Linked DNA regions of Homo sapiens: all the other regions are linked to region 1. Evidence: promoter capture Hi-C in 16 types of primary human blood cells and fetal thymus (Javierre and others, 2016). All regions are on one chromosome and are shown on one strand. Each heading gives the region's core, a stretch centred on a gene start or on the middle of the fragment in contact. The rest is flanking DNA. Distances are from core to core; before and after follow the strand shown.

Evidence for each region. The method cuts DNA at HindIII sites, captures the fragments that hold promoters and counts their contacts. A CHiCAGO score of 5 or more calls a contact.
Region 2: a fragment that was not itself captured here is called in contact with the fragment with the promoter of MED17 in region 1 in 1 of 17 cell types (non-activated CD4 T cells); the score reaches 6.5 in non-activated CD4 T cells.
Region 3: a fragment that was not itself captured here is called in contact with the fragment with the promoter of MED17 in region 1 in 5 of 17 cell types (M0 macrophages, total CD8 T cells, naive CD4 T cells and 2 more); the score reaches 7.6 in M0 macrophages.
Region 4: a fragment that was not itself captured here is called in contact with the fragment with the promoter of MED17 in region 1 in 1 of 17 cell types (monocytes); the score reaches 6.3 in monocytes.
Region 5: a fragment that was not itself captured here is called in contact with the fragment with the promoter of MED17 in region 1 in 1 of 17 cell types (monocytes); the score reaches 6.8 in monocytes.
Region 6: a fragment that was not itself captured here is called in contact with the fragment with the promoter of MED17 in region 1 in 8 of 17 cell types (activated CD4 T cells, M0 macrophages, naive CD4 T cells and 5 more); the score reaches 6.9 in activated CD4 T cells.
Region 7: a fragment that was not itself captured here is called in contact with the fragment with the promoter of MED17 in region 1 in 14 of 17 cell types (naive CD4 T cells, megakaryocytes, M1 macrophages and 11 more); the score reaches 9.2 in naive CD4 T cells.

Annotation. Positions count from the first base shown.
Region 1 is chr11:93,782,602-93,785,588 of GRCh38, forward strand. MED17 (mediator complex subunit 17) reads left to right here and starts at 1,681. Exons shown (of 12, transcript NM_004268.5): 1 at 1,681-2,162. The coding sequence starts at 1,913. RefSeq lists enhancers at 1,502-1,796, 1,738-1,957 and silencers at 2,088-2,217, 2,219-2,413. The HindIII fragment of the contact is 2,360 bases long and covers 323-2,682 here.
Region 2 is chr11:94,547,590-94,550,472 of GRCh38, forward strand. FUT4 (fucosyltransferase 4) reads left to right here. Exons shown (of 1, transcript NM_002033.4): 1 at 1-2,306. The region is part of intron 4 of PIWIL4-AS1 (PIWIL4 antisense RNA 1); the gene reads right to left. Among named protein-coding and RNA genes, the nearest start is that of FUT4, 5.1 kb to the left of the region's middle. The HindIII fragment of the contact is 1,621 bases long and covers 477-2,097 here.
Region 3 is chr11:94,444,430-94,447,581 of GRCh38, forward strand. MRE11 (MRE11 double strand break repair nuclease) reads right to left here. Exons shown (of 20, transcript NM_005591.4): 15 at 2,790-3,009; 16 at 1,381-1,464. Among named protein-coding and RNA genes, the nearest start is that of MIR548L, 21 kb to the right of the region's middle. The HindIII fragment of the contact is 1,345 bases long and covers 1,198-2,542 here.
Region 4 is chr11:93,238,794-93,241,713 of GRCh38, forward strand. No RefSeq gene overlaps it. Among named protein-coding and RNA genes, the nearest start is that of SLC36A4, 42 kb to the left of the region's middle. The HindIII fragment of the contact is 2,897 bases long and covers 44-2,920 here.
Region 5 is chr11:93,212,458-93,215,165 of GRCh38, forward strand. No RefSeq gene overlaps it. Among named protein-coding and RNA genes, the nearest start is that of SLC36A4, 16 kb to the left of the region's middle. The HindIII fragment of the contact is 629 bases long and covers 971-1,599 here.
Region 6 is chr11:94,531,386-94,534,265 of GRCh38, forward strand. C11orf97 (chromosome 11 open reading frame 97) reads left to right here. Exons shown (of 4, transcript NM_001190462.2): 4 at 511-738. The coding sequence ends at 515. Among named protein-coding and RNA genes, the nearest start is that of FUT4, 11 kb to the right of the region's middle. The HindIII fragment of the contact is 1,601 bases long and covers 585-2,185 here.
Region 7 is chr11:94,477,265-94,480,279 of GRCh38, forward strand. MRE11 (MRE11 double strand break repair nuclease) reads right to left here. Exons shown (of 20, transcript NM_005591.4): 5 at 2,410-2,497; 6 at 1,471-1,612. Among named protein-coding and RNA genes, the nearest start is that of MIR548L, 12 kb to the left of the region's middle. The HindIII fragment of the contact is 1,738 bases long and covers 530-2,267 here.

The DNA.
Region 1 (2,987 bases), core at 431-2,930:
AGATGTTATTTGGCATATAGAGGTCCTAACCAATTATACCCAAAAGATAGCTACATAAGTATTCCATTATTAAACAATAGTTATTCTTATGGAAAAGGCCATTATTACAAAACCGTATGGCTTTTGACATACTCACCGAAGCCCAGGGAGGAACTTGCATTATCATAAAAACTGTGTGTTATGTCTGTATCCCAGATGAATCAGATAATATCACTACGTTAATGGATAATATGAAAACCTTAACAACTAACCTTTCAGATCCAACACATCTTTAAACAACTGGCTAAGCAGCTAGTTTTGATCTTGAAGACTTGGTGGCAAAAGCTTTGCTTATTCTAGGAATCATAATCATTTGTTGTTGTCTTGTTTTTGTCTGCACTATTAGACTGCCACTGCGCCTGGCTATTAATCAGATTTTAAAATAAAGTTAAAAAAAATTTTTAAACAAATTTACACGAAAAGCAAGTACAGTGGTTCTCGAACATGATTGGGCGACAGACTGTACAGCTTGCCAGAAATAGGTTTCTCTCATGAAAATTCAACCCCCTCCACACACGGCCATCTACTTTCTTCTTCAGCAGGGACTGACACCAGGGCAACCGTATTTTCCTAAATACCTTAGGAAAGTAGTTCAAAACCTAGATATATCTTGGTCAGAACAAAACCTGGCAAACACTCATGATAAACGGTATATATAATTCCTTAAACGAAATATAGAGGTTTGTAATATAAAATAATCCATCTTTGTCTGTGGAATTCCTACTAATGAAATACGTTCTTGGAGACCCAAAGACTGAAGTTATACCACTTCTTCTTAATCTTTTAAATATTATTTGCAGGCCAGGCATGGTGACACGCTCCTATAGTCCCAGCTCCTCAGGAGGCTAAGGCAGGAGCATCGTTGGAGCCCAGGAGCTCCAGGCTGTAGCGTGCTGACAGCACTTGTGAATAACCTCTGCACTCAGCCTGGGCAACATAGTGGGACCCCATCACTAATAAAAAAGCGAGATCAACATTATTTATTCTGTTACTCGGGCATAAAATAAATATTAAGCACTTACTACATGCCAGAGTCTATTATGTCTGCTGCAGATATTGGCTGTCATAGAGTTATAACTAACAGGAAACCAAATAATTACGTAGTATAATTTTAAGTGGTGATAAGCACGATTGTTTCCCCCAAGCCATGCCCTTAATTTCTAACTCTTCAGATAGTGTTTCTTTAAAAAATTTCTTGCTAATTTAAAATAACTTTTGTTTTGAGGCAGGATCCCACTCTGTTGCTTAGGCTGGAATGCAGCGGTGAGATCTCGGCTCACTGCAGCCTCCATCTCCAGGGCTCAAGCCATTCTCCCGCCTCAGCCACCCGCGTAGCTGGACCACAGGCGCGCGCCACCAGATCTCAGTTCTCTCAACAGGACTCTCATTGCTAAGATCCAAGGATCCATTAATTTCCTTTTCCTTAACTCTTCTAGCCTCTGCAGCTTTCTTTCCTCATCCACTTTTTAAACAAACGCAGGCTTAAAAAGCAAGGAATATACCCGCCACACTCTCGGCTCCCAAACCGCTCTTTCCCTCCCTCTGCCGGCCACGCCTCTTATAGGCCCGGAAGTTTACCCCACCCTGCACCGTGATTCACCGGAAGCGCTCTAGGGAACCCTGGAGCTTCCGCGCCTGCCCAGTTTTGCTCCGAAAGACTTACCGAGGAGGGAGCTTGCGGTGCGTTCTGGGAAAGTTGCTGGGCCAGCTCCTTTGTTTCCAGTCTGAGCGTTGCGTTCGGTTTCCCGAGGGTCTTCTGAGGCACCGCGGCTGCGGGCTTCTGAGTTCCCGGCTCTCCGCAGGGAAGCCTCCTCTTCGTACCTCGTTTTTTGGCTCGTGGGGGGTCCTCCCACCGCTGGCCGACGCAGCCAGCATGTCCGGGGTGCGCGCAGTGCGGATCAGCATCGAATCGGCCTGCGAGAAGCAGGTCCATGAGGTGGGCCTGGATGGCACCGAGACGTACCTGCCCCCGCTGTCCATGTCGCAGAATCTGGCGCGTCTGGCCCAGCGGATAGACTTCAGCCAGGGTTCGGGCTCCGAGGAGGAGGAGGCGGCGGGGACCGAGGGCGACGCGCAGGAGTGGCCGGGCGCCGGGTCCAGCGCAGACCAGGACGACGAGGAAGGTAAGGCCTGCATCCGCTGCCCGAGTCCCCCGGTCTGGGTCCCAGCACCCGCGCGGGCCTCCGCCTCTCCCGCGATGGGGGTGATCTTGTGCGTGCGAGAACTTTTGAGTGTCCCTCTAGCGGAAGCGTAAGGATACTTGGTCGTCATCTTTTTGTTGCTGCCGGACAAGGTAGGACACGACTTTACGTAATACTCCTGCGGGTCTCCTTGAATGGCAGCGTTTAGAGACACTGTCAAACCGTGAAATGTTTAAATGAATGCTTCTCTGTAGAGGGCCTTTAATGTAGCACACTTAGTGGCTAAAAGAGCCCTAGATCGGGGCTCTGCCCCTTGCCGGCTGTGTGACCTTGGGCGAGTTACTTTGCATCCTTGTGCGGTGTGAATGATGATAGTAGCACCTGCAGAAAAGAGGTCTGTTTTGACTGAAATGTGTGACGAGGTCCAAGAGGTAGGCGGGTCCAGATCATGTAGAACCCAGTAGGCCGGGATAAGCGTTTGACTAGTGTTAAGACCACTGAAAGCTTTTGCAGGATAAGTAGAGATGGTTTTGTTAAAGTTTACTCTAGATGCTTTCTAATAAATGAATTATAGGGAAAGCAAAACTGGAAGGGAGGAGACTAGGAGGGAAGTGAAGAAATAATGAGTGGGTTTCAGATTCTCATTATTGTCAAGGATTTTTGAAAAAAAAATCAAAATTCTTAATTTAGTTATGCAGCACACCCAGTGTAAATGGGAATTTAAAGATGTCATTTCAGGGCAGTGCTGTTAGGATTATTAGGGGTCTATTTGCAAAAAAAGGTAAATACTACTTTATACCTCACACA
Region 2 (2,883 bases), core at 37-2,536, 760 kb after region 1:
AAATGTCCTCATTAAAGTATTAAAGTGTGGGCAGAATTACAATTACAAAGTGCCAGCCACCGAATAAAGATAAAAGTTCAGTTCTTAAAATGAGTTTTTATGAGATAACAGTCAGTGATCTTGGTGTTACCGGGATTCCACATGGGGCAGTGGGAAAGAGTTCAGGTTTTGAAGGTAACCTAGTTTAGATTTGAATTCCAGCTATGTGACATTGGGTAAATTAGTAGTAGTCCTGAGCCTCAGCGTCCTCATCTATAAAATGACTGGCGAAAATACTTCACAAGCTCATTTTGAGCACTTTAGGAAGTAAGTGAAAGTACCTAAAATAGCAGGCACCCAATTGATGATTTTATATCTTCCTTCTTTGCTTGCAGTGATTTCAGGATGTCCTCATATCTATTTATAGGTCTAAAATTATATCTTAAGGTATGTTGTAGAATAAATTAAAAGGATAATCTAAATCACCATTTAGATTAAGCTTGACTTGCAAACTAGGAAGAAGCACCTAGGCTTTCTTTGAAAATATTTTTTTGGTTCGTTTTGGTAAAGCTCTATAAATTGGTATCTATTATTTTACCAATTTTTTTTTAGTATTAAGTCCATTTAGAACTAACCATATTATTTATGGAATAATTAGCATGAGGAAGGTATAATTGCATTTTTTTTTTTTTGAGACGGAGTCTTGCACTGTAGCCCCAGCTGGACTGCAGTGGCGTGATCTTGGCTCACTGCAACCTCCGCCTCCCAGGTTCAAGCGATTCTCCTGCCTCAGCCTCCCGAGCAGCTGAGACTACAGGCGCCTGCCACCACGCCTGGCCAATTTTTTGTATTTTTAGTAGAGACTGCGTTTCACCATGTTGGGCAGGCTGGTCTTGAACTCCTGACCTTGTGATCCACCTGCCTCGGCCTCTCAGAGAGCTGGGATTACAGGTGTGAGCCGCCGTGCCCAGCCATTGCATTTTTATTCACATACACATTGTTAATGTGGAACAATTTAACACTAATCTCATCAGAGAGCGAGATGAATGTGGCAATTGCTCATTTTATTTTGCATATATTAAATTGAGTAGGTTCAGCTCTAACATACCTTAAGAAAAATGCATATCGGTGCACTGTATGTATTTCAAAATGCCTTTCCTATGATTGTCATGTCCTCCTTTAAGGCTTTTCCCTCAAATTTATTACAAATTTAGTATTTTTAGTACTTGATGACTCTAATTACATGAATGCACCTGGAATGACATTTGTAACAGAAGACGGTCTGACTTGCTTTCAGTATTCACAAGTTCTTTCCAGTTTCCAAGTCTTTTCCTAGCAGTAATTTAGGGGAGACAGAGGAGTTTCATGTAAAGAGCATGCAGTTTGGAGTCAGAACCTGGGTATGACTCTGTGGCCTTGATGAAGCAAGTTACTTAAACTCTTGAGTTTTAGCTTTCTCCTTTACAATGCATGAATGCCTATCCCCCTACAAAACAAAGATTAAATGTGATGATGTATGCCAAGGTGCTTTGTATATTGTAAAGTGCTATATAATTATAAGATGTTCTAAATTTTCAAGGATCTAAACCAGGGATTGGCAAACGTTTTTCCAGGGAGTAAATATTTTACGCTTTGCATATATAATTTATGGAGGTGTTGAGAGGATAGATTAGACACTTGAAGTACTCAGGATAGTGCCTGGCATGTAGGAAGCACCTGGAAAATATTCGCTGTGATTACCATCAGTCCATTTTACCGAGGAAGGAGCCAAGGTCCAGGCCCACTGAAGGACTTGCATAACATTACAATAGCAGTGGCAGAACCAGCCATGCTTCTGCAAATCACAACCTCTTTGAGCCTCTGTCACCTGAACTGCAAAATGAGTGGGTTAGACAAAATCATCTGTTGGGACCTCCTAGTTCCACGTGCTATCATTCTACTAACTGGCACCCTAAGGTTGAAAGTGCTTATCTGCTTTCCAATGTGGCTTCCTTACAGTCTGGAACTGACAATATGCAGGAGCAGTAAACTGGCAGAAAACCAGGAATCAGAGAAAGAAAATATAATTTAACTTTAAAGATGTAAATTATATATATAGTATATTATATATATTTTTAAAGCTTTATATGCCTCAAATATCAGGGAAAGGAGCCAAGTCCTTGGTATTTAGTTTGGTGAATACTTGCATTGAATACATGTCAAGATGTCAAGTCATTTTTGAATGTGTCTCAGGGATTTCTATGCTACACATTCTTTTAACAAATCAAGTATTTATGTACACATGTTCAGATTTTTTGACAAAATGATTAAAATAATGAGATGGAAAATGACTCTGTTTATAATGTATATCCTCCATGCACTAATGTGTTCAGTCGTCACCCATGGGATATTTCTTGGCTTGGGGCAGTTTCTGTAAGTTCACTAGTTCTAGATTGGTAATTGGAATGTGATGGCTTTGCCTCTTCTGTGTTGCACAAAGTCCAATTCAGCCTGTCCTCTTGTTCTTTCTTGCCTGTCTTTTCCACTTTATTCTGAGGAATCATCTCCAAGGGCATAAGTAGTATACTCCTTTCTCTCAGTCCAGTTTATTTTCCTGAGTGCTCTGATGTGATGCCCTCCATGTATTGTCTCTAGCTCCTGTTCACTAAATTAAATGCCATTTTAAAAAGAGTAGGATCAGAACTGGGAACATGATGATGGGCAGAGAGAAGGGGAGGCAAGCTTTCTTCTTAACAGCCGATGCTTAAATTATTGAAATAGGAAAATACGAAGTGGTAATAAACACTAACTATTGTCTCTTCTTTCCTACCTGCCCTCCTCCAACACCACACACACGCACGCACGCACACACACATGCATGCACACACACACACTCTGACATGTTCATTTAAGCACAGACTTTGA
Region 3 (3,152 bases), core at 620-3,119, 660 kb after region 1:
GCAGCTGAAGCCATGGTTTTTAGTTTCTGTCGCTAGTGATATGAGGAAAAGAAGGATGAGAAAAGGGCTTTACTGGCCCAACCAGAAACAGAAACTAAGAATCCATGACTGTATTCTCTCCCTTGGACACCTCTGCAAGACTCATTAAATGCTGTTTAAAATATCAATAGATTTGGACAGTTGGGTATGCCTGCATAACTCTTACTGACCTAAGTCTTTTTCACCTGGGTTGCTGTTAAACTCACATACCTCTCACAACTCTACTTGTGCAGCTGTCCTTTTGGACATAAATGTGGTTTATATTACCCTTGATAAACTTCATCTTCTGAGAATTAGTTCAGCTCCCCAGTGTGTCAACAATTAATCCTAGCTATAAGATTATAAATATTACAATTATAATATTTAAAAAATATTTATAATTATAAAAGTGAAACAATAACCTCAAATAACTGATAATATAAATAATATACATATGAATATATTCTAAATGCTAGGTAGAAAAAAGTATCACCACCTATCTTAATGCATACTTTTTGTAAATATGACTAACATTTTAGGCTGATCTCATCATCTATAATATTAAAAATAGTTAAACAGATCCCCTTGAGGCCAATTTTTAGACCATAGGATATACACAAATTAATTCCAAGGGCCTAGCCATAATTTCTCTTAAATATAGGTCACATGACTTCTCTATATGGAAAGCAGAGACTGACAGGGCAGTATGGGGGAAGCAAGGAAACAGTAGAGACAGTTCCTCTCTCTTTCGACCACTGTCCATATAGTGACCAACTACTTCACTTTCCTGTTTCCAGGGTCTCTCTGCCAAACAGAAACAGCATTTGTCTGAAAGTAAGAAATTATAAAACATAATTTTTGTTTTGTTTTGTTTTGTTTTTGAGACGGAGTCTCTCTCTGTTGCTAGGGTAGAGTCCAATGGCATGATCTTGGCTCACTGCAACCTCCAGTTCCTGGGTTCAAGTGATTCTCCTGCCTCAGCCTCCCAAGTAGCTGGGACTACAGGCATGTGCCACCACGCCTGGCTGATTTTTGTATTTTTAGTAGAGACCGGGTTTCACCATGTTGGCCAGGCTGGTCTCGATCTCCTGACCTCGTGATCTGCCTGTCTCGGCCTCCCAAAGTGCTGGGATTACAGGTGTGATCCACTGTGCCTGGCCTATAAAACATGATTTTAAAAGCTTACCCTCTTCAGTAACTCTAATGCATAGCAAAGATCTTTTAAAAAATAATTTATCCTGTGATCCTAATTGCCCTTATAACTTCCCAATGATTGCAACACAAATAAGGGCTACCAATGGTGATTACCTTGGTCTTTCTAATGTTGGAATTTATAAATAATCACTTGCAGTCTATACTCACCATCTATAATAGACATATTTCTAGATGCTGACACAGCAGTCTTTGAGTTCCTGCTACGGGTAGAAGTCTCCAGACCAGTGTCTGCTGTTAGAAAAATGAACAGTCAATGTACAAGCCTATCAGCAGCTAAGGTTTATTTCATACAACACTAAAAAATGAAAGCTAAATAAACTTATGTCAAATAGTTTGTCTGTAAAAAGCCAGACATATATATAAGAACAAACATCTAGAGTCTGACCAATTTTCAGAGACTATTCTTTTAGGCCACACTTCAGTTTATCCAATTTAATTTATCCAATTAAAATGTAAGGAAATAGGCTGGACGTGGTAGCTCACGCCTGTAATCCCAGCACTTTGGGAGACAGAGGCGGGAGGATCACTTGAGGTCAAGAGTTCAAGACTAGCCTGGCCAACATGGTGAAACCCCACCTCTACTAAAAATACAAAAATTAACTGGCATGATGATGGGCCCCTGTAATCCCAGCTACCTGGGAGGCTGAGGCAGGAGAATTGCTTGAACCTGGGAGGCGGAAGTTGCAGTGAGCTGAAATCGCACCATTGCACTCCAGCCTGGGCAACAGAGCAAAGACAAGACTCCATCTCAAGAAAAATTAAAAAACAAAAATAAAAATTTTTAAGGAAAAATTTTGTAAATGTAAGAATAGTGAAAATAATCATCATTAAAAGATGAGGATTTCTCTCCCTGGAGATTTTAAACCAAATTAATATTCATTTCACCAGCTTAAAATTCCTATGGATGCATATTTAATAAAAACAATTTTAAAAAATCTTTAGAGATGAACTGACATAATGTGTGAGAAAGTCACTGAGTGACCAATTTCTATTGGCGTGAACTATTCAATGACAATAGTCTCACAGTAAATACAATGTTGACTATGTTAATGACTAGTTTTAGGAATCAAATTGGGGGGCAGTTTTCTTTCTTAAACTGACTTTATAAAGACTACTTGATAAGCATATGTGTATTTGTATCTTATGACAGTAACAAAAATAATAATTGTATGATCTGGAGTTTTCCTCCTGTTGCCAAAGGCTTTTAGCTATTTTCTTTAACAACTCATATTTGCCTATTACTTTGCACATGTGAAAATACATATGACATTAAATGTATCCAAAAGGTACTACGTGACAAACACAGTGAAGCTTTTATAAGGTATGTGCTAAGAACAATTAAAACCCTAAGTGCATGTGGCCATTCAAAATTTATTTAAGTAAAAGGCACATGTCAGAACTGCCTTAAAGACTGTCTTTATATATTATAAAAATAGATTTTTAAAGAACCGTGTTTTAGAAATAAAACTTATAATTCAACTCTGACAAGATCTAATTCTGTATTTTCCACTCAACTGCCAAGTGTGAATGTGCACAGGACTGAACTCAGTGCTCACCTCTTCCTCTTTGAGACCCTCCTCTCGATGCTGAATTCTGCCCTCTTCCACCTCTTCGACCTCTTCCTCGGCCTCTTCCTTTGTTGGTTGCTGCTGAGATGCTATCATCAGAGTCATTAGCCATCTGTTCTGCTAAATCTATACTCATAAGGTCATCAGCACTAAAGGCAGAAGCAGACTCCTCTGACTGAGATCTGAGTGCTCTGGCCCTGGTCATAGCCTAAGAGGGAGAAGAAGGAGAAAGTACACACAATGAGATAACGTACCATCCTAAAAATCATTAATTTAGGCATTGACATGAACTAATCATACTATAAAAACATAAAGGAGGCTGACACAGTGGCTCACGCCTGTAATCTCAGC
Region 4 (2,920 bases), core at 242-2,741, 540 kb before region 1:
TGCTCCAAAGAGAGATGTTTTTTTCTTCCATTTAATTCAGGGAAGCTTATAAAAGCCCCTTTGGAAAAAAATGATCTTTGCAGAAGGTGTTCATGAGCAGAGAGCATTTTCTTTCAGAGTACACTCATACTTGAGGGACACTATACCTGCCATTATGTGGGTTTCTCTCATAGTGAATAGGAACAGAAATAAAGGAATAGAAGTGCATGTGATGGAATGCGTGTGGTTACCATGCAAAGGTGTGAAATTTCAGCCATCTTAAGTCTGAGAACTCTGCAAACCAGCCTAATCACAGGGAAGCAATTCATCTGCAGTGGAATGCTGAGGACTAAGCTAGAGCAGCACTTTGAGTGAAACAAAGAAGTGTAACATCTAACAGCAGGATAGGAGAAATGAAAAATTCCAGACAAGTACCAGCACAGGCAGAATGCTAGACATTCTGGCTAAGGCATTCACCAGGTTTCGCTCATCAGAATGCAATGTCCATGAAGGCAGGGACTTTCTCTCTCCAATCAACATGGTATCCCCAGCATTTAGTCAGGGCTTGGTGTAGAATGGGAGCTTAATATTTATTGAGTGAAACATGAATAGTATGTTGGTTCAGAAGGGATGATTATACCAAAACCATAGCTAATCACTTGCAGTGCATGTCTTTATGCTTAAGTATTAGTAAGTACTCTATAATTCATTTTGAAGGATAAAATGAATATGCCAATGATTGATACTTGTTATATTAGGTAGGTTACTAACTCAACTAGCAGAAAACTTCTGAATCTGCTTCTTTCTATCAGACTCTGTGTAATCTTCTAAAGGTAGACGACTTTGAATAGCTGGGTTGTTGTCTTTTCCTTTTGTGGTTTATAAATAACTGATTGCTCCTGAATAGCACTGTTAGTTTCAACATTTCCTGATTGGAACCACTTCCACTGATAAGGGAAAACCAGAAGAACTTTCTTCTGAAAACTTAATTTTTAGTCATAGAATCTTGAGTGATTAAAGAAAATAAAAGGCCCTGGATAATATAATTTTTATAATGTTGTTTTTCTTCTTTTTGCTTTTTTACTTTCATTCTTTTGGTGAAGGGGTATATATTAGGGAGAATATATGGCTGTTTGGAAGAGATTGGAAATAGTATAATTTTGTATCCTGTAAAATTTTTCAGTATTCCTCTGGCAAGATGATCTCTGCCAGACTCTCTCTATATATTTTTAAATTATCTCAGTGTTCTAGGTGTTATAGGTCAGAGGAATGTGTTCTTATGACATAGATACTTCATTCTCCAATGAGGGGCTGCTATCTTTCTTCTGGGATTCTCACACTGTTTGAATATAAATCTGTACTAGTCAGGGATATTGCTGCCATCACATGGATATGATCTCACTGAGAATGAAACTAACGTAGAAGAAAGCAAAGATAAGAGAGGGGAGAGCAAGCGCACAAGAGGTATTGTGTATGTAGTGCTATTCAGCCATAAAAAAAAAAAGATGACATTCAGTCATTTGAAATAATAGAAATTGAACTGGAGATCATTGCGTTTAGTGAAATAAGCCAGACACAGAAAGACAAACATCTCAGGTTCTCACTTACTTGTGGGATCTAAAAATCAAAACAATTGAACTCATGGACATGGAAAGTAGAAGGACAGTTACCAGATGCTGGGGAGGATAGTGGCAGGCTGGCAGGGAGGTGGGATAGTTAATGAACACACACACACAAAAAAATGAATGAATATGACCTACTATTTGATAGCACAAATGGATGACTATAGTCAATAACTTAGTTGTACATTTTAAAATAACTTAAAGAGTGTAATTGGATTATTTGTAACTCAAAGGATAAATGGTTGAGGCAATGGATACCCCAATTTCCGTAATGTGCTTACTTCACATTGCATGCCTGTATCAAAACATCTCATGTACCCTATAAATACATATACCAACTATGTACCCACAAAAATTTTAAAAACTTAAAAAAAGTTAAAATAAAAAAAGTAGTATTGATTGACATCCTAGATGAAGCTACACCTGGATTCAGCTGTGTCTGTTCCTCCTCAACTTACCAGTTTCATGTGCAAAACAGTTTGAACTAGGTTTCCTGATGCTTGTCTGCAAAAGATTATTCACTGATATCGAGAGAGATGTTACTTGTTGAAGTAAAGAGTGAAGATTTGTTCTACATCCTATTCTCTTACCTCCTGTGCTGCACTGAAGGAAGGAGCAGAGCTGAAAATGAACTTGATAAAATACACAAGATTAAAATTATTATACAAAAATAAAATAGATTTGAGAACCAGAGCAATGTCCAATGCTTGTGATGAATCTTAGATAAATAATGGCTGCTAGACAAATAAAAAGGACAATATTCTGAAAGAAAAATGTCATTTTATTCCTTCTATGTGTACACCGACATCGCTTTGCATCACAGCCTTTTTCATCTAATGTGGCAAAATCTGTGTCTCTCTAATGTATTTGTGTGAAGTTCTCAGCATAGAGACATTACTATGGCCAGGTGATATAAATCAATGATTCTTAACTTGGGTACTGTATACTATGCAGAGAGGGCTTAAAAATGTTGCCTGGAGTTGACCGGGTGAGGTGGCTCATGCCGGTAATCCCAGCACTTTGTGAGGCCGAGACGGGCGGATCACGAGGTCAGGAGATCGAGACCATCCTGGCTAACATGGTGAAACCCCGTCTCTACTAAAAATACAAAAAATTAGCCGGGCATGGTGGCAGGCACCTGTAGTCCTAGCCACTCAGGAGGCTGAGGCAGGAGAATGGCGTGAACCCGGGAGATGGAGCTTGCAGTAAGCCAAGATCGCGCCACTGCACTCCAGCCCAGGCGACAGAGAGAGACTCCGTTTCAAAAAAAAAAAAAAAAAATTGTCTGGAGTCTATGAACCAATAGGCATCGTGTCAGG
Region 5 (2,708 bases), core at 35-2,534, 570 kb before region 1:
TTTGCTGAGAGTAGATCTTAAATGTTCTCTCCACACATTCAGCAATAAAGATAACTATGCAAGGTGAGGGATATGTTCATTAGCTTAATATTGGTCATCATTTTCACAATGTATGCATATAACAAAAGATCATATTGGACACTGTAAATATATATAGTTTTCATCAATTATGCCTCAGTAAAATTAGAAATGGAAAGAAAGAAAAGACAAGCTTAGACAGACTCAGAGACTTACCCAAAATTTCACAGATCAAAACCAAATCTAATTTCAACTTTAGGACATATACTATTATCCACTCTGCCTCATAGCTTCTTGAGATCCTAAGCAGCTAAGCTGACAGGTTGTGAGAGCCACTCACAGTTCTGACCATTGGTCAGTGGTGTGATTTAGTCATTACAACATTGTACATTTCTGTCTATCCATTTTCATATAGCTAATGAAAGATTCAGAAGATCAGCCTGAAATCAGGTAACTGAGCTTCACTGATGGCGGTTAATTCCAACATAAATGCCACAACCAACATATTAAGCATTGTCTTCTGAAAATACTACTCTTTGAAGGACAATAAAAAAGTGACTTGGCCGGGCACAATGGCTTACGCCTATAATCTCAGCACTTTGGGAGGCCGAGGTGGGTGGATCACGAAGTCAGGAGATTGAGACCATCCTGGCTAACACGGTGAAACCCTGTCTCTACCAAAAACACAAAAAATTAGCCATAGTGGCATGCGCCTGTAGTCCCAGCTACTCAGGAGGCTGAGGCAGGAGAATCGCTTGAACCTGGGAGGCAGAGGTTGCAGTGAGCTGAAATCATGCCACTGCACTCCAGCCTGAGGGACAGAGCGAGACTCCGTCTCACAAAAAAAAAAAAAAAAAAAGTGACTTATGGTGAGTGCTGGAAAGGACACTTTTATTTTCCCACATGTAAGTTATTCCCTTTGGTATTTAACATGACTGGTAAAAGGCTTTAAAGCTTATAATAAATCTCAAGTGTACTCCCGAAGGCTCAAAAGAAAAAGGGTGCTTTACGAAATTTGCTTCTTTCCATTCTAAGCATTATGTATTGGTTAGACATTAACTTGCAAGGAAATTATTTCACTTGTGTTGTCTTCAAATAAAACTATTATCATGCCGAGTACAAAAGTCTGGGTTTTCTCTTGATGCTAAGGACTCATGATCCTCACATGTAAATTTAACTTGATAAGTCCTCTCTATTTCAGGATTTTAACATCAAGGTCTAGTTTGGGATTTAATTTGACAGGCTGTACCTGTCAGTTTTTGTATAGTTTACTTTCATCACAGTTCAAAAGGAGTGTGTGAAAGACTTACTTGTGGTAAGTAGGTCACCTGAGACACATGTTATGCATGAGGAATCCTGGAATTCCTGCTACCTGGGACACTTTTCATGATTATTCAAGGAGCTTGCTCACAATTTAATAACCTTGTTGACAATACCAACCACATTGGGAAAGAATAGTTCCATACTCATTTGGGAAATCTGCTTAAGAGATATAGATTCCCCATAGAACTGATCAGAGAAAATAAACACCAACATATATGTGCTTTTTGGTAATAAAAATAAGTGGCATGGAAGTTAGAAAGCTTCCATTCAGGAAAAAGGAGAAGTTCCAGTTGGAGGACTGCATTCTAGCCCATGCCCTCAGAAGATTTTGAGATAAGAGGTCCTTGGAAAAAGGTACCATTTAAGAAAATGTCACCAACCCATTTTCTTTAAGACCAGGCTGGTAGCCAATCACATTATGCTTCATTTATAGGATACTGTTCCTGTTAATTTTGTTTTTTAGTGATAACACACAATTGTTCCTCATCTGATTTTTCCCTCATAAAACAGCTAAGCATTTTGATCTGACTTTCTCAATAGACTGCATTCATTGTATAATAAATTAGATCAATGATTGATTACTTAATAATAGGCCATTGTATTAAGTCAAAGAAGTGAGAAATTGACCAAGAACAGTTCATTTTGTGTATTATAAATGGATACTAATCCATCCATCCTCTATTTAGGTCTTTGGGTTCCATTACTTATGTCAAGAGGCTATTTACAATCTAACAAGTTTGACCTTATCTCCATTGGTGATCTTTCAAATGTGGCTCTATAAGGAAACCAAAATACCTAGAATTACAGGATTTGGCATACTCCAAAACAACATCAGTGACCCATTCAGATTGAGAATTATTTAACATTCACTGTTCTAGGCATCATGCTTAGTGTTTTCTTATACGTTATCTCATTTAATCTTCACAATAACCCTACAGAAATAAATATTATGATCAATATTTTACAAATGAACAAACTGAGGTTCAGAGAAGAAGTAAATTCTAAGGCTTAGTAGTCACAAGAACCAAACCCAGGATCCCAATTCCAATCTGATGAATTTTTTTTTTTCCCCCTGAGACAGAGTTGCCCAGGCTGGAGTGTAGTGGTGTGATCTCAGCTCACTGCAACCTTCACTTCCCAGGTTCAAGCGATTCTCCTGCCTCAGCCTCCTGAGTAGCTGGGATTACAGGCACACGCCACCATGCCCTGCTAATTTTTTTTTTTTTTTTTTTTTTTTTGAGACGGAGTCTCGCTCTGTCGCCCAGGCTGGAGTGCAGTGGCGGGATCTCGGCTCACTGCAAGCTCCGCCTCCCGGGTTCACGCCATTCTCCTGCCTCAGCCTCCCAAGTAGCTGGGACTACAGGCGC
Region 6 (2,880 bases), core at 135-2,634, 750 kb after region 1:
CCAAGATTGGGCCACTTCACTCCAGCCTGGGTGACAGAGCAAGACTGTGTTTCAAACAAACAAACAAACAAACAAACGGTAATGGTTGATGACAAAAAACCTTTTATCGTTTCCTTCTTATTCTGTGCCACAAAACAAGCCAAAAAAAAAAAAAAAAAAAAAAGCATTGTCTAGTCTGGTGCTAAGCTTGAATGTGCCTACAATTCACATGGTATCTCAATAAAATTCAGACTCTGATACCATAGGTCTGGGGTGGGGTCTGAGATTCTGTATTTCCATCCAGCTCCCAGGTGATGCTGATGCTGCTTGTCCGGAAACTATGCTTCAGTCGTGAGGGTTTGGAAGACTAAGTAGTGGCTTTTCTGGTTACTGGGATGACATGGGTGTGGCTCTTACATTCTGCTCAATCAAATGGGAACATTAAGTCAAATTTAGATTAAAATGGGTGAGATTAAAGAGCATCTCCCCGAAGTAAAACACTTATTTTTTCACTTTTTTTTTTAACTCTAGGATAAGATGAATTAGATTTTCCATTAAGAAGGAACCTCTTTCTGCTGATGTCTGAAGAACGGAGAAGAAACTCAAGCTTGTTTCAGGATTTAAGATGTGTGCAAAAAAATGATAGCCTGTAATTACTATTATTGGTATTAATACCTATCTATAAATTAATCCAAAGTAATGAAAGACTATTGGTAATGTTCAGTAAGTACCTGAAAACAATAAAGGAAAATATACTTATTTTTAGTTGTCACAGTTATAATTCATTTGGCTTCTAATTCAGGTTATTTTATTAAATATGTGAAACAATGATGAAGCAAAGGCACGTTTACCGAGTATTTACTTCAAGGCAAACATTATAAACCTTAACCCTTTACTACAGCATAATGTGTTAGCCCATTTTTAAAAAACAGAACTAAATCCAGATACAGATAATGGTGAGTAAATGAATGACAGAAGAAAAGTCTTTGACTCAGAGACAAACATTTTTATGGTAACCTTGGTAGAGCTAATCATTTCTCTAGAACTTGTTCACTAAATAGTAAGGAGCCAGGAAATTTATGGTAAGATCTTAAAAAAGAAAGTATTTAGGCTGGGCACAGTGGCTCACACCTGTAATCCCAGCACTTTGGAATGCCAAGGCGGGCCGATCACTTGAGGTCAGGAGTTCAAGACCAGCCTGGCCAAAATGGTGAAACCCTATCTCTACTAAAAATACAAAACTTAGCCAGGCATGGTGGCACACTCTTGTAATCCCAGCTACTTGGGAGGCTGAGGCAGGAGAATCGCTTGAACCCAGCAGGCGGAGGTTGCAGTGAGCCAAGATCACACCACTGCACTCCAGCCTGAGTGAAAGAGTGAGACACTGTCTCGAAAAGAAAAAAAAAAGTATTTAAATAATACTGCCAAGTTAAAAAGAAGAAAAAAAAACTCCTTCCCTTTCCACCATTTGTCAAAGTAATATATGTGCAATATAGAAAAATTGGAAAATGAAGATATGTAAAGGAAAAAAACTCATCTGTAATTCCATTTCCAGAAAGAACTATTGAATTACATACTGTCCCATTCATTAAAATATCATGTTAAATAATTACATAAATTCTTAATATATTTGTTCTGAACTTATTTATTTATTACTCTATTTTTTTAATATTTGGGTTTTTCATATTTTTCATTTTATACATAACTGCTGTGATTTGTTTACACTCCCAGCCCCTACCCCTTACAAAGTTATTTTTTTCTAGTATTCTGGTTATACACTTTTCATTCTCCTTCCTCTCTAGACTCAGCTCATAAAACTTACTTCAGTTCCCTGTTCCCAAGTTCATAATTGTTTCTAATGTAACAAATCTAGTCAACAGATTTTTTGACTGAGTATGTCCCTTCCCTACTTAAAAATATTTGCACTATGAAACAGTCAATAATCTTGAGTCAAGATCCAAACCTTTCCAGATTTAATATAAAATTTTCCATTTAGCTACTGCCTGCTAGATGAGATCCTACATGTAAGCCAATTCTAGCCACCACCTTGTTTATGGAACTTTTTCATCACTGGCTACTTCAAAACAGTGTTACAGGGCAATGCCTAAAACTGAGGGATTACATCTGAAATTGGTTAAGAAATATAACACCCAAAACTGCCTAGTTAGGGCAAAGCATTTACTATTTGTAGAAATCTAAAATCTTAAGCTTCTAAAAATTCTTACACCCAACCTCATCGCATGTATGTTAGGATGTCACACAGAAAGTGCAATGGGTGGGAGACTTTTGTTAATCCATTGGAAATTATATCCTGTTCTTACTTGAGTTCCCAGTATGACTTTATAAACGTGCTCAGGGATTTCCTTTCTCACTTCCACTATATTCCTGCCAATAAACAAGCTCCTTGTCATTTATTTTCAGATTTGCTGCCTGGGCTGGGTGCTCTGAATTGGTCTCTCCTTTTCTGACCATCCTCTACTACTAAGAGTTGTTCTCATGGCACTGTTTCTGTGTTAAAGTTTCATTCTTATTCCACTCTGGGGACCTGGTTCCTTTTGTAGTTGAATTCTGTTCTTCATTGCCCCATTGCGTATTTTCCCAACTAGATTCATGTACAGGCATTATTTATAATAGTGAATAACTGAAGCCACCTAAAATGCCCGATAGGAGATGATTTTTTAAAGTTACTATATAATATGATGCAACTGTTTTGTTTTGCTTTTTAACTCTATAAGTATTTTTCTTAATAAAGCAGGATTACAAGGAGGTTTCTTTAAAATTATAAAAATATACAGCAATCTTAAGCCAACAGTCATTTTCATACTTAATGATGTAATACCCTAGAAACACTCCTACTATTATCTGGAATAAAACAAAAATGCTGTTTTTTCCAAACATGTT
Region 7 (3,015 bases), core at 149-2,648, 690 kb after region 1:
TATTTAAAAACAATATTCTTACATTGTTTTAATATATTGTGCTTTTTAAATAACTCAATGACTTTCAAACAATTCTCATACTCCACAGGTTCACCTTGATCTAGTGAAAGAAACTAACAAAAACAAGTCAACAAAATAGTTACAAATATTAAATATTATAAAAGGAGAAAAAGCCAGGATGCTAAGATGGCGAATTAACACTATGGAATTAAAAGGGTGGACAACACTGCTACTTTATATACGGATTAGAGAGGGTCTCAGAAGAAAAGCCAACAATGTAGAAGTCTAGAAGTTAGAAGTGGCCTAGCTCCCAAGGAGAATGCTACAGGAGTGGCCAATGGAATACATGGCTGAGGTGGAATGTAGAACATGTAACTGGAGACAAAAAAGTCAAGGCACACAAAGCCCAAGGCATTAGAAGATTAATCTACTTGAGTGTTGAAACACTAAAAACACTGGCAAAATTGAAGGTAGGTAAGTAGGTAAAAAGTCTGAGAGAAAAAGCAATGCGGTTTAGCCAGATGGCAGAAGCTTAAAGGGAACAGTGTGTTTGCAGGCAGAAAAGGAAGCAGTGGGTGGAGCAAGGAGAACAGTGATCCCCGCTTCTTTCCAAAAGCCCAGGGGTAAGAGAACTGCATGGGACACAGGAACCTCAGGGGACAGCTGGGCTTCACTGAAGGTTAGAAAGTGGAGGTAACATTCAGAGAAGAGACTGATAATAATGAGGAATCTGATAATTATAAAAAGAGTTCTAGAGTTTATAATGAAGAGCTGGGGGACAGGGAGGGGTGCAGGGTGGAGACAGAGTCCAGTTAAGGAAGGTATAATAGAACAGGATAAGATAAGAGTTTGGGAGAAAATGGATGACTGGAGAGATGTGCTTCTGGTGGTGACTGAGGCATAATGGAATCTGTCCTTAGTCTGAATGGAGGAGGAAAGGCAATTTTCTGGAGATATGATCCCTAATAACACTGCAGTGATTAAAACAACTGTTAATAGCTTTTTTAAGAAAAGTATATTTCACTTCCTGCTCTTTCACTTGCAGAATCAGATATAACATCCAGATTTCATTTTCCTTATCTCTAAAATATAAATAACCATGATGCTTTTCTACTTGCCAGAGGTATTATGAAAGCTGCACAAAATTATAAGCTAGCGGTATTGTACAGTGAAGCATTAGACCTTTCAAAGACTTCCAAGATATCAAAGTGCAGTTTTGCTAATTATTCTATAATTCTAACATTCAGGATTCTACACCTGAGTCTAAAAAAAACCCAAAATAATAAATAGTAACGAAAAGACATTTTTTCACCAAAAATTTTTACCAAAACCATCCATCATTTTTTATAGTCACCAATAAAGAATAAGGTTTGCCCCATTTTTTCCAAACAGATACAAACTTATCTCCAAATTTCTCAATTGTTTAAAGAATCACACATGGACATAAACAGTAAAATAAAACTGTCTTACCTAAACCATATAGCGCAATCTTTGTGCTTCCTTTTTGAAGCAAAACCGGACTAATGTCTATCTTCTCCACAGACATTGAACGTCCAAAGTGATTTACAAATCCAGCACAACTTAAAATGTCCAAGGCACAAAGTGCATCTGCCTATGCAAAATAATTTCAAAGAATGTTAGTGTGTATGTAAAAGTAGGTATCTGCATGAATATCGTATCACCTGTTAAAAGCATACTCCATATTCTACTTACAAAAACATAGATGAGGATAGTGTCTTCTCAAAACAAAATTACAATAGTAAAAGTATTTGCTACATTTTTGTACTACAAATCACCTACAGCAACTGGAATCACATGCCAAAGGCAAGGTTAATATCTCATCAAAACTTATGATGTCTTGGCCACAAAAAAATAAAAATTAGCCATGAGATAAATGCTTTGTAATATTAAGCAACCGTCTTAAAGCCTGGGGAAAAAAGACCATAGATAATCAGTGATTCATAATATTAATGACCAGATAAAATGAAAAAATACTTGTAGGATCTCTAGTCTTACTTCCATATCAAACAGGTAATAAGATAATCTAATTTAGATTTAAAGATGGTCTTGAACAATCATTTCCTAAAAGTGAGATTTTATAAGATAGTTATAAAAACACTGACAAACTGTAAACCACTATACAGATGTTAGGTGTTCACTCCTACTCCTGGCTTCTTATTGTTAACATCAGTATTAATGAAATAAAAGCATAGCTCATACACCAATTCTTATTTCAGATTTTTAAAAAATCTAAAAAGCAGTATAAAAGCTTGTATGAATGTGAAAAGTCAACTTGACTTTTGACTCAATTTGACTACACAATGAGAAAAAGGGAAGGCATGCTTTCCACAGACAAACTAAACTGATCATTTCCAAAATTCCAACAAACTCTAAGAAAACAATAATTACCCCTGTGGGATCGTCATGATTGCCATGAATACTAAACACTGGAATTGAAATGTTGAGGTTGCCATCTTGATAGTTCACCCATGGAAACCTTAAAAAAAAAAAGTTACTTAAAATTTCCATACGGGACAAAAGCTGTTTTCCCTAAGATTCTCCTCCAAAATATTAATGCAATCATAGGCAAACTGCATAATCTACATTGGCATATGACCACTAGTTTAGAGCTTTAAAAAATAAAATCATAGGCGACAATTCATTTCAATTAGTTTGAAAATATCTCAAAGCACTACATTTTAAAGAAACCCCAACTATAATAAACAGTGCTTGTGGTATGTATGAGTAGTATATCTAATTAATGAAAAGTTAATAAGCCTTCAAAATTTTAAAAACTTAGCATATGGTTTTTATTCGTAGTGGGGGGAGGGAAGAAAATCCATATACTTTAGAATCCCAAAGAGGTAGATTAAAACTCCCAGCTCTATCACTTATTGCCTGTTCAAATTAAAGTCTCCTGTCAGCCCCTGCCCCCAGCCATCCAGCTCCTCTTCTCAGAGGCAAATAATGTTAGCAATTTCTAGTGCATCTTTCAAAAGGATCCTATACCTATCC